3 separate regions of the Homo sapiens genome follow, and regions 1 and 3 are each linked to region 2. The links are contacts of gene promoters, found by promoter capture Hi-C in blood cells and fetal thymus (Javierre and others, 2016). All regions are on one chromosome and are shown on one strand. Each heading gives the region's core, a stretch centred on a gene start or on the middle of the fragment in contact. The rest is flanking DNA. Distances are from core to core; before and after follow the strand shown. Region 1 overlaps LOC100287290 (a long non-coding RNA gene). Region 2 holds the start of RARRES1 (retinoic acid receptor responder 1). Region 3 overlaps GFM1 (G elongation factor mitochondrial 1).

Region 1 (4,119 bases), core at 787-3,286, 46 kb after region 2:
AAAAGGTGGGGGTTTGCAAAGGGAGTAGCCTCTGGTCCTTTTGTTACTTAGGCATGGAAAGTTAGGGTTTTCCTTTCAATTTAGTTCTATGAAGTCAATGTGAAACAGCCTTAGGTTCCCTGCCTTCAGACCCTATTCTACCTCAAGGTTGTTCTGTTTGGTGGGTACGCTGTGCTCCCTCTGTGTTATCCCAAAACCTTCATGGAGAGCCTGCCATATCTGGCAAATTTGTACAGGTGGATTTGGGGACTGAAGGCAAAAAAGGACCATGTTCACCTGGGAAAGAAGTGACATGAGGGACAAGAAGCAGGGGCATGAGTGGGACCACAGGCCACAACTACCCCCATGCATCCCAGTACCCTGCAGGGTGGCATTGGGAAGGGCTTTGGGATCTTCCCACACAACTCCGGTGAGGTTTGTGTCTGTGCCCGAGAGAAGCTGCACAAGAGGAACGCAGGAGGCCAGGGCTGGGGAGAGCGGCCTGGGGAAGGGTGGGAAGGCTGCAGGGCAGGCCTGGGGGCTGGAGGGGCAGTTGTGGCTGTTAGGAGGGAGTGTGGATCGTGTCACCTCCTGGGTTCCCTTGAGATATTTGGCGGGCTGGACGTGAGGGGGAAGAATCTGATAAAATACTAAGTTCTTTTGACCAACTAAGTTGGAGCATTACAGGCTGGGGCTGTGTTACAGACTGGAAGTGGGGCCTGATTTGGGTCTCTGGAGCTTCTGAGGTCTGGGACATTTGGTTTGCACAAGCCACTGAATCCATTTTTTATGAGAGACAGAAGCTGGATTAAATGATAGCTATATTTCTTTAATTTTTCCTATTCAATAATTGAAAGATATAAATTTCTAGGTCCTCTGTCTCTCCCAATTTGGCCAACACCGGTAGAGAAGCCACTAACTATTTGGTTAGTTTCATTTTACTTTTAGACTTCTAAAGGTACCTGGCTATTTACATTTAAGGGGACCCATCAAGTGCTAAATTTGTTGACTCTTTAATAAAAGAAAATTTTAAGAAAAGAAAAAGGAACTGATATATTTCACAACTGGTAAATTACAGTAAGCTAAAGTCCCATGACATTCCAGAGTGCCTCAACCACCCACAGCACTCTTAGAGATAATAAGGAAATTTCAGACTAACCAAACTTGTCCTGTGTATTTTCTTCCTGTGGTACATATTAGACTACAAAGCTTGCAGTAGAAGAAGAAAAGACAATCACTGTGTACTGCTGGGTTGTGGGTTCTGAAGCAAACTTGAAATTGAAGGTTAAAGCTGGGCAAATGTAGCAGAATGATCTGTTTCTGGAGAAAGTGATTCTAATGCAGAGATTATGGCCTGAGATTTTGAGAGGGGGCAGTGAGTGTTGTGGGGGCAGGCAATGGCCTGCTACGCAGACAGGATGGAGAGAGATAAATGGTCCTCCTGAAATAGTAGCTTTTGGGGTAGATATTACTGGTGACACAGCAGAACTGAGTGATGTACTCCTTGCTGGGGAGGAAACCAGCATTTTAAAATTCGCTACATATTTATGACCCTTTGGACCATAATCCTGGAGACCTTTGCTGTTCTAAGTGTCTGATGAGGACTCCTGAGCTGCCGGGTTCCAAGATGCAGCTGCCAGATTATGTTTATTTTTTGACAAAAACAGGAGCTGGTGGATCTCAAGTCTGGGACAGGGCCCTGGTGTCCTGCTGACCCTGATTGGAATTCATTTAGAAAAATGCAGATGGGCTGCACCGTTTCTTACTTAAGGATATAATATACCCATAATACTTTAAATGAAGTGCTGGAGATGTTTTCTAGAGGTCTCACCTTGCAAGAGATCTAGTGGGCTAGATGAAGCTAACCATCAAACTGCTGCCCCCGTTTGAGTCCCTGAGACAACTTCATGCCAGTCAGGACTCATACAAGTTAGGAGCTTTGTGATAATGAGTTCAGAATTAGTAGTGTTTCACTCTTCAGACTTGTCTTGAATTCTATCAATGACTTCCCTCAGTGGAATTTGTTTATTTATTTTTGAGATGGAGTGTCTCTCTGTTGCCCCGGCTGGAGTGCAGTGGCATGATCTCGGCTCACTGCAACCTCCGCCTCCCAGATTCAAGTGATTCTCCTGCTTCAGCCTCTTGAGAAGCTGGGATTACAGGCATGCACCACCAAGCCCAGTTCATTTTTTGTAATTTTGGTAGAGATGGGGTTTCACCATGTTGGCCAGGCTGGTCTGAAACTCCTGACCTCAAGTGATACGCCTGCTTTGGCCTCCCAATCTCAGTGGAATTTAGATCTGTCAATTTCTTACTTTTTGTATTTTGAAGCTATGTTATTGAGTGTGTTTGGATTTAGGACTGTGATATCTTTCTGTTGGATTCAGTCCTGATCACATAAAGTGCCCCTCTTTATGTTTGGTAACACTTCTTGCATTACAATCTCTTTTGTCTGATATTAGGATAGCTACCTCAGCTCCCTTGTGGTGAATATTTACATGGTGACTCTTTTTCTATCCTCTCACATTCAATCTATTTCTTATACTTAAAATGTGGTTGTTGTAAGCAACATATATTTTTATCCAGTATTACAGTCTTGGCTTTTTACTTGGGTTATTTAGTTAGTTTATACTAAAACTGATACAGTTGAGTTTATTTCTACTGTCTACCATTGGTTTCTATATGTAGACCTGTTTGTTTTATGTTTCCTTTTTTTCTTACCTTTTTTGATTAATAAAATATTTTTTATTATTCTGTTTTACACCTTCACTAACTTGCCATAGACTTCATTACTGTCTGCTTCCATTTCCTCATTGCTAATCTCTGGCTACCTTCAGTTCTGGATTCCATCAGTTGAAGAGGAAAAGTAACATTCTCCAAGTGCTCAGGGTGAGCAATAGATAGTTTAAGCTTAGAAATGAATGGGCTGGAAGGATAAATAGAGATAAATAGAGATGGAAAATCACATTCCATGAGATACATGGTTTTATAATGGAAGGGGCTGCATTTTCAACAACAGAAAAGAGAAATAATGTCAGTTATTCTAAATATTGTATAGTAAAACTTCCTTGGCTCCAAATGTAGCCATGTTTCCCAATTTTCTTACACTTACAGATACGTCTGTCCTTTGAGAAGAAGTCATGCTATTGACATTCTGAAGTCAAAATTAAGCATCACTCATTATTTAATTGCTTAATTTACTGTAATCCTTGGATGAGTTTAGTAAAAGAAACTGGTATTATCTGATACCTGTTCTATCATCTTTCCTCTTCCTGGCTTTCTTTTTGATTTTATTTATTTATTTATTGAGATAGGGTCTCACTCTGTCACCTGGACTGGAGTGTAGTGGCGCCATCTTGGCTTATTGCAACCTCCATCTCCCAGGTTCAAGTGATTCTTGTGCCTCAGCCTCCCGAGTATCTGGGGTTACAGGCAAGCACCACCATGCCCGGCTAATTTTTGTATTTTTAGTACAGACGGGGTTTCACCATGTTGGCCAGGCTGGTCTCAAACTCCTGACCTCAAATGATCCACCCACCTTGGCCTCCCAAAGTGCTGGGATTACAAGTGTGAGCCACCACGCCCGGCCTCTTTTTGATTTTAAAGGAGGAGTTTTTACTTCTGTGTTTCTAAAGCTAATACTCCCAGCTCCTAGCTACCCTTACCCACCTCCTGTGGAATATCACCTTCACATGTTTTGGCATGTTTGCTATCACTCTTTCTGTTTCTCCTCAGAATATATCTTTTGTCTCTCCTGCCATTTCTAGTTACATGCCGTCTCTTGGGTCTCTTTTCCAAGAGGTTTGTATCCTCTACTTTCATTTTCTATTTACTCCTTTCTTTTTTTTTTTTTTTTTTTTGAGATGGGGTCTTGCTGTGTCATCCAGGCTGGAGTGCAGTGGCGTGATCTCAGCTCACCGCAAGCTCTGCCTCCCAGGTTCACGCCATTCTCCTGTCTCAGCCTCCCAAGTAGCTGGTACTACAGGCACCCGCCACCATGCCTGGCTAATTTTTTGTATTTTTAGTAGAGACGGGGCTTCACCATATTAGTCAGGTTGGTCTCGATCTCCTGATCTCATGATCCATCTGCCTCTGCCTCCCAAAGTGCTGGGATTACAGGCGTGAGCCACTGCGCCCGGC
Region 2 (4,002 bases), core at 1,072-3,571:
ATGGTGAAACCCTGTCTCTACTAGAAATAGAAAACTTAGCCAGGCGTGGTGGCACGTGCCTGTAATCCCAGCTACTCAGGAGGCTGAGGCAGGAGAATCGCTTGAACCTGGTAGGCGGAGGTTGCAGTAAGCCGAGATCGCAGCGCTGCACTCCAGCCTGGGCAACAGAGCAAGACTCTGTCTCAAAAAAAAAAAAAAAAAAACAAAGACAGGTGACAAGAATAGGTTGCTCCTTCCTTCCTTCCTTCCTTCCTTCCTTCCTTCCTTCCTTCCTTCCTTCCTCTCTCTCTTTCTCTCTCTTTTTTTTCCCCATAGGGTCTCACTCTGTTGCCTAGGCTGGAGGGCAGTGGCACATTCTCTGCTCACTGCAACCTCCAGGTCCTGGGGTCCTGGGCTCAAGCAATCCTCCCATCTCAGCCTCCTGAGTAGCTGGGACCACAGGCCCACGCCACCACATCGGCTAATTTTTTTTTAATTTTTAATTTTTTTTATTTTTGGCAGAGATGGTACTTTGCCATGTTACCCAGACTGGTCTACAACTCCTGAGCTCAAGCGATTTGCCCACCTCGGCCTCCCAAAGTGCTGAGATTACAGGCGTGAGCCACCATGCCCCAGCAGGTTGCCTTTTTCTTTATTATTTTATTTTATTTTATTTATTTTATTTTGAGAGGGAGTTTTGCTCTTGTTACCCAGGCTGGAGTGCAGTGGCGCAATCTCGGCTCACCGCAACCTCCGCCTCCCAAGTTCAAGCGATTCTCCTGCCTCAGCCTCCCAAGTAGCTGGGATTACAGGCATGCGCCACCACACCCAGCTAATTTTGTATTTTTAGTAGAGACAGGGTTTCTCCATGTTGGTCAGGCTGGTCTCGAACTCCCGACCTCAGGTGATCCACCTGTCTCGGCCTCCCAAAGTGCTGGGATTACAGGCGTGAGCCACCGTGCCTGGCCAGGTTGCCTTTTTCTAGGAACAATTTGATTTAATCATTCAATAAATACAGCCGTGCCGGGTACAGGAATAAGTTTTGAAGAACCGAGGCTGAGCTTCTTGAAGGACTTTCCAATGGTGTTTGCTTCCAGGCGTTTGGCACTGTTAAATGAAAATCCTGCTGCTACACTTTAAAACTCGACCTATTTATTAAATACATGCGATACTCAATTCCAGATTCTTTGAGGCCGTGTGTCTGCAGGCTTTGTGGAATATCTGGAGGTTGTAGAAGGAGCAACTTTGCTTTTGGGACAGACTTAGTGTAGTTCTGTAACTTTTGTAATCTATAGGATGAAGAACGCAAAGTAGCTTCACACATACGAGACAATTCCTACAGTCAATGCCTTGAAATCAGCAACCAAACAACGGGTTGCAAAGTTCTCATTCATTCGGTTCATATAGAACACTGGGCTCGGATTCACTCACTTCTAATTAGATCAAATCAGACGCCAGCATTAGCAGGTTTCTGCCCAGGCCTACGTGTAAATTCCAACCACATTACCCCGAAGCCCTAGCGTGGTGGACTGCAATTAACAAGAGACAGTCGTCCGCGGTATGGTATGGCTACTGGCTTAGATTTTGGAAATCCCGCCCAAAACTTTGGCTGCAGCCACTAGTAGGGCGCAGGCACAGTAAGCACCCCCATAGCAACCAACTCTGGGTACCTCCGGACAAAATTAAATGTTGCCCTTTCAGCCTGTTCCTCAATTTCCCAAAGCATCTCTTTCCCAGGTGTGGGAGCAGTCAAGAGCGCTGCCCTGTGAAAAACCTATGACCTCATAAATGCTGGAAGGAACGAGCCAGATTTCTGCAGACGCTGTGCACCGAAGGGGCCCCTTCCACGCCCTGGGATACTTCAGGGGCGCCAGGCCCAGCTGGGATCTCCCCGGGCGTCGTGCGCACTGCACCTTCCCTGGCGGACCATCCGTTGGGCCGGCAGGCGCGCGTACCCAGGTGTCACCTCCCAGCGCCGTGCGCGGACAGGCAGGCGCGTGCCCCGGCGCGTCGCTCCGCACTCACCCACGCGCGGCCCTCCTGCACCTCGGCCAGCACTCGTAGCGCGCTGGGCGAGCCGGACCGGAAGTTGAAGAAGTGAAGCGCCGCGCGCGCCGCCTGCTGCAGGAGCCTGCGCGGGACCCCAGCATCCTGAGGCTGCCCAGGGTCGTCGGGGTCCCCGGACCCCGCGGGCGCCGCCACCGGGGCGAGCAACAGCAGCAGCGCGAGCAGCGGGGCGGTGGGGCGCGGGCCCCTGGGCCCGGACCAGGGAGCAGGCAGCCGTTGCCGGCGGGGCTGCATGGACGCAGGAAAGTTGGCTCGGCACCCGACAGACACGGGCTCGGAGCGGGCAGTGCCGGCGCTCGCGGAAATAAGGCCGTGGTGGGCCCCTCCCCTCCGCCCCCAGGGCGAAGGTCTGTAGCGAGCCCGGGTCCCCATGGGGCCACTCCTTTTCCACGTTTCCCGCAGCCCCTGGGTTCTCTCTGCCCCTCCCCGCTGCCCGGGCTTAGTGCTAGGATGCGGCATCGCCTCCGCAGCGCAGGGCCGGGTGCTTCTGGCCCAGGCCGCGGCGGGAGAGGGTCGGGGTTGGGGGGACAATGGGGACGCCTCCCCGAGGAATCGCGGCCCGCCCGTGCTACCTCGTACCGCGTCCCTAGCCCAGCTCAGGGACTTGGCGTTTCCCCTGCGGTTTCGCAACCCTGGGGTTTTAGAGGGAAACTGCTTGGATTCTCCAAGCATTAGGGCTGTGATTTCCCAGCAGGTGAAAGGGGACGGCGGAGAAAGGGGCAGGCCGCAGCGGGCATTGATGGGGCTCCTCGTGGCACAGCCACTGTGGAGGTGGGAGAAGTCGCCAGAGGGCTGGGGCTGGGGAGGAGGTGAAGGTGGATGCCGGCAGGGAGCCCGGGACGCCGGAGCCAGGGGCTGGGGACGGGCCTGAACACCTGCCGGTCCTGCCCAGAAGAGGCGCCGAGGAGGGAGGAGTGGGCAGCAAGGCAGGGTAAGATAAGGCCTGAGAGTCCCATTTGTCTCAGAAGCAAGTAGGTCATTGATACATTGATAACCACTGTGCGAGGCAGATTTAAAGGCCGGGGATGGAAGTCGGATTCCAGCGGGGTGAGGCATGGATGGGGCTTCAGGGAATGGAGGCAGCAAGTGTTGGCAACTCTTTTTTTTTTTTTTTTTTTTGAGACCATGTCTTGCTCTGTCTCCCAGGCTGGAGTGCAGTGGCACGATCTTGGCTCACTGCAACCTCCGCCTCCCAGGTTCAAGCAATTCTACCTCAGCCTCCCGAGTAGCTGGGACTACAGCCACCATGCCCGGCTAATTTTTGTATTTTTAGTAAAGACGGGGTTTCACCATGTTGGTCAGGCTGGTCTCAAACTCCTGACCTCGTGAGCCGCCCGCCTGGGCCTCCCAAAGTGCTGGGATTACAGGCGTGAGCCACGGTACCCGGCGGCAACTCTTTTTAGACAGGTGGCAGTGAAGGGCTAAGATAGCCATTGTTTTTAAACCGTAGGCAAGAGAAAAAGTCCTGGAGAACCAGGGCTGAGAGAGGAGAACTGGTACTGCTAGGCACTCCCAACATCCATTTCTCCATCCTGCATTTTGTTCAGGGGTCTACCCCTGCACCAAACGTGGACCCCAGTGCCATTGTGGGGCTAAAGGAAATCTCTTTTTGCCAGTGGGTGGTTGAGAGTGGGCATGTGCCAGTTCTGCATGGTGAGCAAAGCCTGTGGGTTGATGGGCGTGGTGCCATCTCTGGAAAGATCCTGTCTTACTGCACTTCTTCCTCTGGCTGTTGTCTGTCCCTTGTCTGTCTTTCCTTCCTTCTGCAGATAATTGTGAAACACCTGTGCCAGGCCCTGGGGGAATGAGGGTGAACAATCTTAAACATCTCTGCCTTCCTGGAGCACACCTTCTAGGCAAGTGGGGCCCGGACACTCAGTGAGGCCAAGGGAATGTGTGCTATATTGGATGAAGTTACATGCCAGGGAGAAAAATTAAGCCAGAAAAAGAAATGGG
Region 3 (4,214 bases), core at 1,303-3,802, 39 kb before region 2:
TGACTTAAATCTCAAGGGAGAAGGTGTTTATTACATTTCATAAGGCCTCCTGGAAAACACTACTCTCAGCATATCATTAAGGTGTCCAAAGGAAAGTCGTATTCACATTTTCTCAGAAGAAGCACTTCTGAGTGCTTGAGCTGGGGCTACAGAGCGGAGTGGGGATGAGGAGGGAAGGCTGTCAATGGTGTTCACTCCACGAAGTGGAAAGATTTGGTTTCTGGTTGCGACTGTCAAATGAAATAATTTTCAAATAGGATTTCCACTTGGAATAAAACAGAAATGTTTCTCTTTGGCTTTTAATTATTTTAAACTAAGAGTAGTGAGCAGAAATCTTAATCTAAAGGAATTAAATGGCTAAAATGCGTCTGTATTTTTCTCAAATATTTTCCAATAAGCAGTGCTAAAATATCTACTATGTTTGTTTTCAGGTCCCTCTAAATGATATGTTTGGTTATTCCACTGAACTTAGGTCATGCACAGAGGTAGGCAAATTTAAACTTACCCTTCAAAAGACCACCCTACAGAATGATCATATTATAAAATCTTGACCTTGTATGACTTTTACTTGATAGTTTAAAAAACAAACAAACAAACAAAAAACCCTCTCTTTTTTTTAAATCCCTAGGGAAAGGGAGAATACACAATGGAGTATAGCAGGTATCAGCCATGTTTACCATCCACACAAGAAGACGTCATTAATAAGTATTTGGAAGCTACAGGTCAACTTCCTGTTAAAAAAGGAAAAGCCAAGAACTAACTTTGCTTACTGTGAGTTGACTGACTCTAATTGAATCTGCGTGGTTTTGATACTTTGATGGATTCCAGTGGAATAAATTCAGGCTGCTGAAACAAGAAATTCTGAGCCCAGGAAGCGGGCTCTTCTTTCTTCAAAAGAAGCCCTTCTTGTTCATATTCAGGAGCTTCTGTTATATTCAAAGGTAATTCTATGTCTATCTCAACTCTATTGATTGGTTTTATAGTTCATTGAAAATCCTCAAATAAAATATAATTATTACTGAAATATGTTTAATATTTAAGGGGAAAAGAGACTAATTTCAGTTATACTTTTAAGCTTAGAATGTATGTTCATTTCCAAATTTTGTATCATAAGAGTTTTCAACATAGAGAAAAGCTGAAAAAATGCAAAGAATAACCACATACTTTCCATCTACCTTCCTTTGTTAACGGGTTGTTTATCATATAATAATTTGTTTTGTCATATTTGCTTTCACTGTCTATTATCTGTTTAAGTCTCATAACTCTATTTTTAGTTTGCTGAAGACTTGAAAGTGAATCGCATATATCATGACACTTCTTGGAGTGTCATTAATGGGCAGGCTTTTCTGTTGAAGAGTGGATTCCGTATGTTCTTCATAGAGAGTGTTTTTCAGATTCTTCATTGGGATATTAAAATATTAGCCAAATTTCTCTCTGTTTTATATATGTCTGTTTATTTCAGTTTGTGGTTTCTGCAAATTTGTAACTGCCTCTGTTTTAGGAGTATAAGTATTACTTCCTTGTGGTCTATTGTGAAGTAAAAAGTAGACCCTTGCATATACTATTCTTGTTTGTGTTCATCTTAATGTTTTTGTACAGCTAAATCAAATGTAATTTATAGAGTTAGTTTCATCAACCTAATGAATGCTAGTTAAATTTGAATTCCTTGGAATTTATCGTATATTGTATTCACTGAGATTATGAAGGGACAAATGTTAATCTTTTGTTTCCAGAAAAAGTTGGGCTTTCCCAAGCAGTTCTATTACCCGGTTCAGAATTGCTTCATCCAAAAATCATCTGATGGTATAGATGGATCCTAGTCCTTTTCATTACCTGATGGTAGAAATAAAATAATTGATTTTAAATTCCTTTGCTTTTCTTGACTTATAGACGTGGCTTTATACTTTAAGGTTTCTAGGGGAAAAAGATCTTTAAAAAGTATTGAGCACATGTTTTCAAGGCATTTGCTAAATACTTTTTTTTTTTTAATTTTTATTTTTTTGTGGTAGGGTCTCACTCTATCCCCCAGGCTGGAATGCAGAGGGACTATCTCTGCTCACTACAACCTCTGCTTCCTGGGTTCAAGCAATTATCCCATCTCAGCTGCCTAAGTAGGTGGGACTACAGGTGTGCGCCACCACTCCCTGCTAATTTTTTGCATTTTTTGAAGAGATAGGGTTTTGCCATATTGCCCAGGCTGGTCTCAAACTCCTGGGCTCAAGCTCTCTGCCTGCCCCAGCCTCCCAAAGTGCTGGGATTATGGGCATGAACCACCATGCCTGGCTGCTAAATACTTTAAATGCATTGTATAATTTCATTCTCACAACCCCGAGAGTAAGTACTATTATTATGTCCATTTTGTAATAGAAGAAGCACAGATAAGGTAAATAACTTTAATGAGACCACAAAACCTAAGTTTTTTAATTGATACTTTAATTACAATTATTCACCAAGTGCATTTCCCCCATGAATGTCTGTTGCTACAGTAGCATCAGGTCTGAAAAAATGTGGTTGCTTTGGCATTTCCTCAGCATCTTGTGACATTCACAATAACTTTGAATATTGTTCCTAATGAGGAAATACATTCTGTGTACCTTCATGGAATTTAGCATGATTCCTATGGCTATTGAGAATAGTCACAACTACTGGAACTAAACTGGATAAATAAGTAAAAAACTTACTTATTTTTAATTTGTAAAACATCCTGGTTATAATGTTACAGTGTTAGAAAAGGTCCTAGATATTTAATCCAACACCAGCATTTCATAGGTAATGATTCAGGCCTAGCTGGTGGGAGTAATTAGAATAGGTTCACAAATGGACAGATCAGGACTAGAACCCACATCTCTTTCTAAGTCATTAGTTATAGTTGGCAAAGATCACATACCAACCAAAGTCTGTAGCATGGAAAAAAATTAATGAGAATATTCATAGGTGAGGGTTGTTTATACTACTATCAAGAAGGATAATTGTTGGCTAATTCAAATATTACATCCTTGTATTGGACAACAGTAGCAGCACTAGGTAGTATTGTACTGATTCCCAACCCTCACTGTACTTTAAAAATCACTGGGGGAGCCTTAAAAAGAAATACCTAGGCCTACACCCAGATATTTAGATTATTTGGCTGGATCAAGATAAAAACTTTTTTGGGTGATTCTAATATGCAGACAAAGTTAAAGACCGCTGAAATATTGCCTGCACTGCGCTTAAGCCCAAGACATGAAATGAAAAATCTGTGAAATTCAGGAGTGTCATATTGTATTCTTTTGTGTGATATTAGAGTTTGGTTTTTTTGTTTAACAACTGTTTTTTTTTTTAAGAGATGGGGTCTTCTAAGACAAAAACCATCTGACTCAGCAATACCATTACTATATACCCAAAGGAACGTAAATCATTCTATTATAAAGACACATGCATGCACACATTCATTGCAGAACTGTTCATAATGGCAAAGATATGGAATCAACCTAAATGCCTATCACTGATAGACTGGATAAAGAAAATGTGGTACATACACATTGTGGAATACTATGCAGCCATAAAAAAAGAATGAGATCAAGTCCTTTGCAGGGACATAGATGGAGCTGGAAGCCATTATCCTCATCAAACTAACATAGGAAAAGAAAACCAAATACTGCATGTTCTCACTTATAAGTGGGAGCTAAATAATGAGAACACATGGACACACAGAGGGGAACAACACACACTGGGGCCTATTGGAGGATGGAGGGTGGGTGGAGGGAGAGGATCAGGAAAAATAACTAATGGGTACTAGGCTTAATACCTTGATGATGAAATAATCTGTACAACAAACCCCCAGGACACAAGTTTAGCTATGTAACAAGCCTGCACATCAACCCCTGAACTTAAAGAGATGGGGTCTCGCTGTGTTTCCCAGGCTGCTCACAAATTCATGAGCTCAAGCAGTCCTCTGGCCTCAGCCTCTGGAGTAGCTGGGACAAGAGGCACACACCACCATGCCTGGCTTGATAACTTTACCTTAAAAAAAAAAGTGTTCCTATTTATATAAGCTTCCAACTGACTTTCAAAAGAACTTGTTCAACTTCTAAAAATTCGTAATTCAGGTAGGAAGAAAATGAAAGTATGAATAAAATAAAATGGAATGTAGACAAAATCCCTGGTATTATTTTATATGTCTTAAGAAAGTTCTAAAGGTATTAGGAAAATGAATGTCAAGCTGTATGTAATTG

Evidence for each region. The method cuts DNA at HindIII sites, captures the fragments that hold promoters and counts their contacts. A CHiCAGO score of 5 or more calls a contact.
Region 1: a contact is called between a fragment that was not itself captured here and the fragment with the promoter of RARRES1 in region 2, in 2 of 17 cell types (erythroblasts and M0 macrophages). The highest score is 8.2, in erythroblasts.
Region 3: a fragment that was not itself captured here is called in contact with the fragment with the promoter of RARRES1 in region 2 in 1 of 17 cell types (neutrophils); the score reaches 5.0 in neutrophils.

Annotation. Positions count from the first base shown.
Region 1 is chr3:158,776,270-158,780,388 of GRCh38, forward strand. All of the region lies in intron 4 of LOC100287290 (a long non-coding RNA gene), which reads left to right. Among named protein-coding and RNA genes, the nearest start is that of MFSD1, 24 kb to the right of the region's middle. The HindIII fragment of the contact is 1,701 bases long and covers 1,187-2,887 here.
Region 2 is chr3:158,730,136-158,734,137 of GRCh38, forward strand. It overlaps RARRES1 (retinoic acid receptor responder 1), which reads right to left and starts at 2,322. Exons shown (of 6, transcript NM_206963.2): 1 at 2,005-2,322. The coding sequence starts at 2,280. LOC100287290 (a long non-coding RNA gene) reads left to right here and starts at 2,226. Exons shown (of 5, transcript NR_171782.1): 1 at 2,226-2,393; 2 at 3,816-3,902. RefSeq lists a silencer at 2,137-2,196 and an enhancer at 2,274-2,774. The HindIII fragment of the contact is 14,465 bases long and covers 1-4,002 here.
Region 3 is chr3:158,690,708-158,694,921 of GRCh38, forward strand. It overlaps GFM1 (G elongation factor mitochondrial 1), which reads left to right. Exons shown (of 18, transcript NM_024996.7): 17 at 432-485; 18 at 629-4,214. The coding sequence ends at 760. Among named protein-coding and RNA genes, the nearest start is that of LXN, 20 kb to the left of the region's middle. The HindIII fragment of the contact is 2,959 bases long and covers 1,074-4,032 here.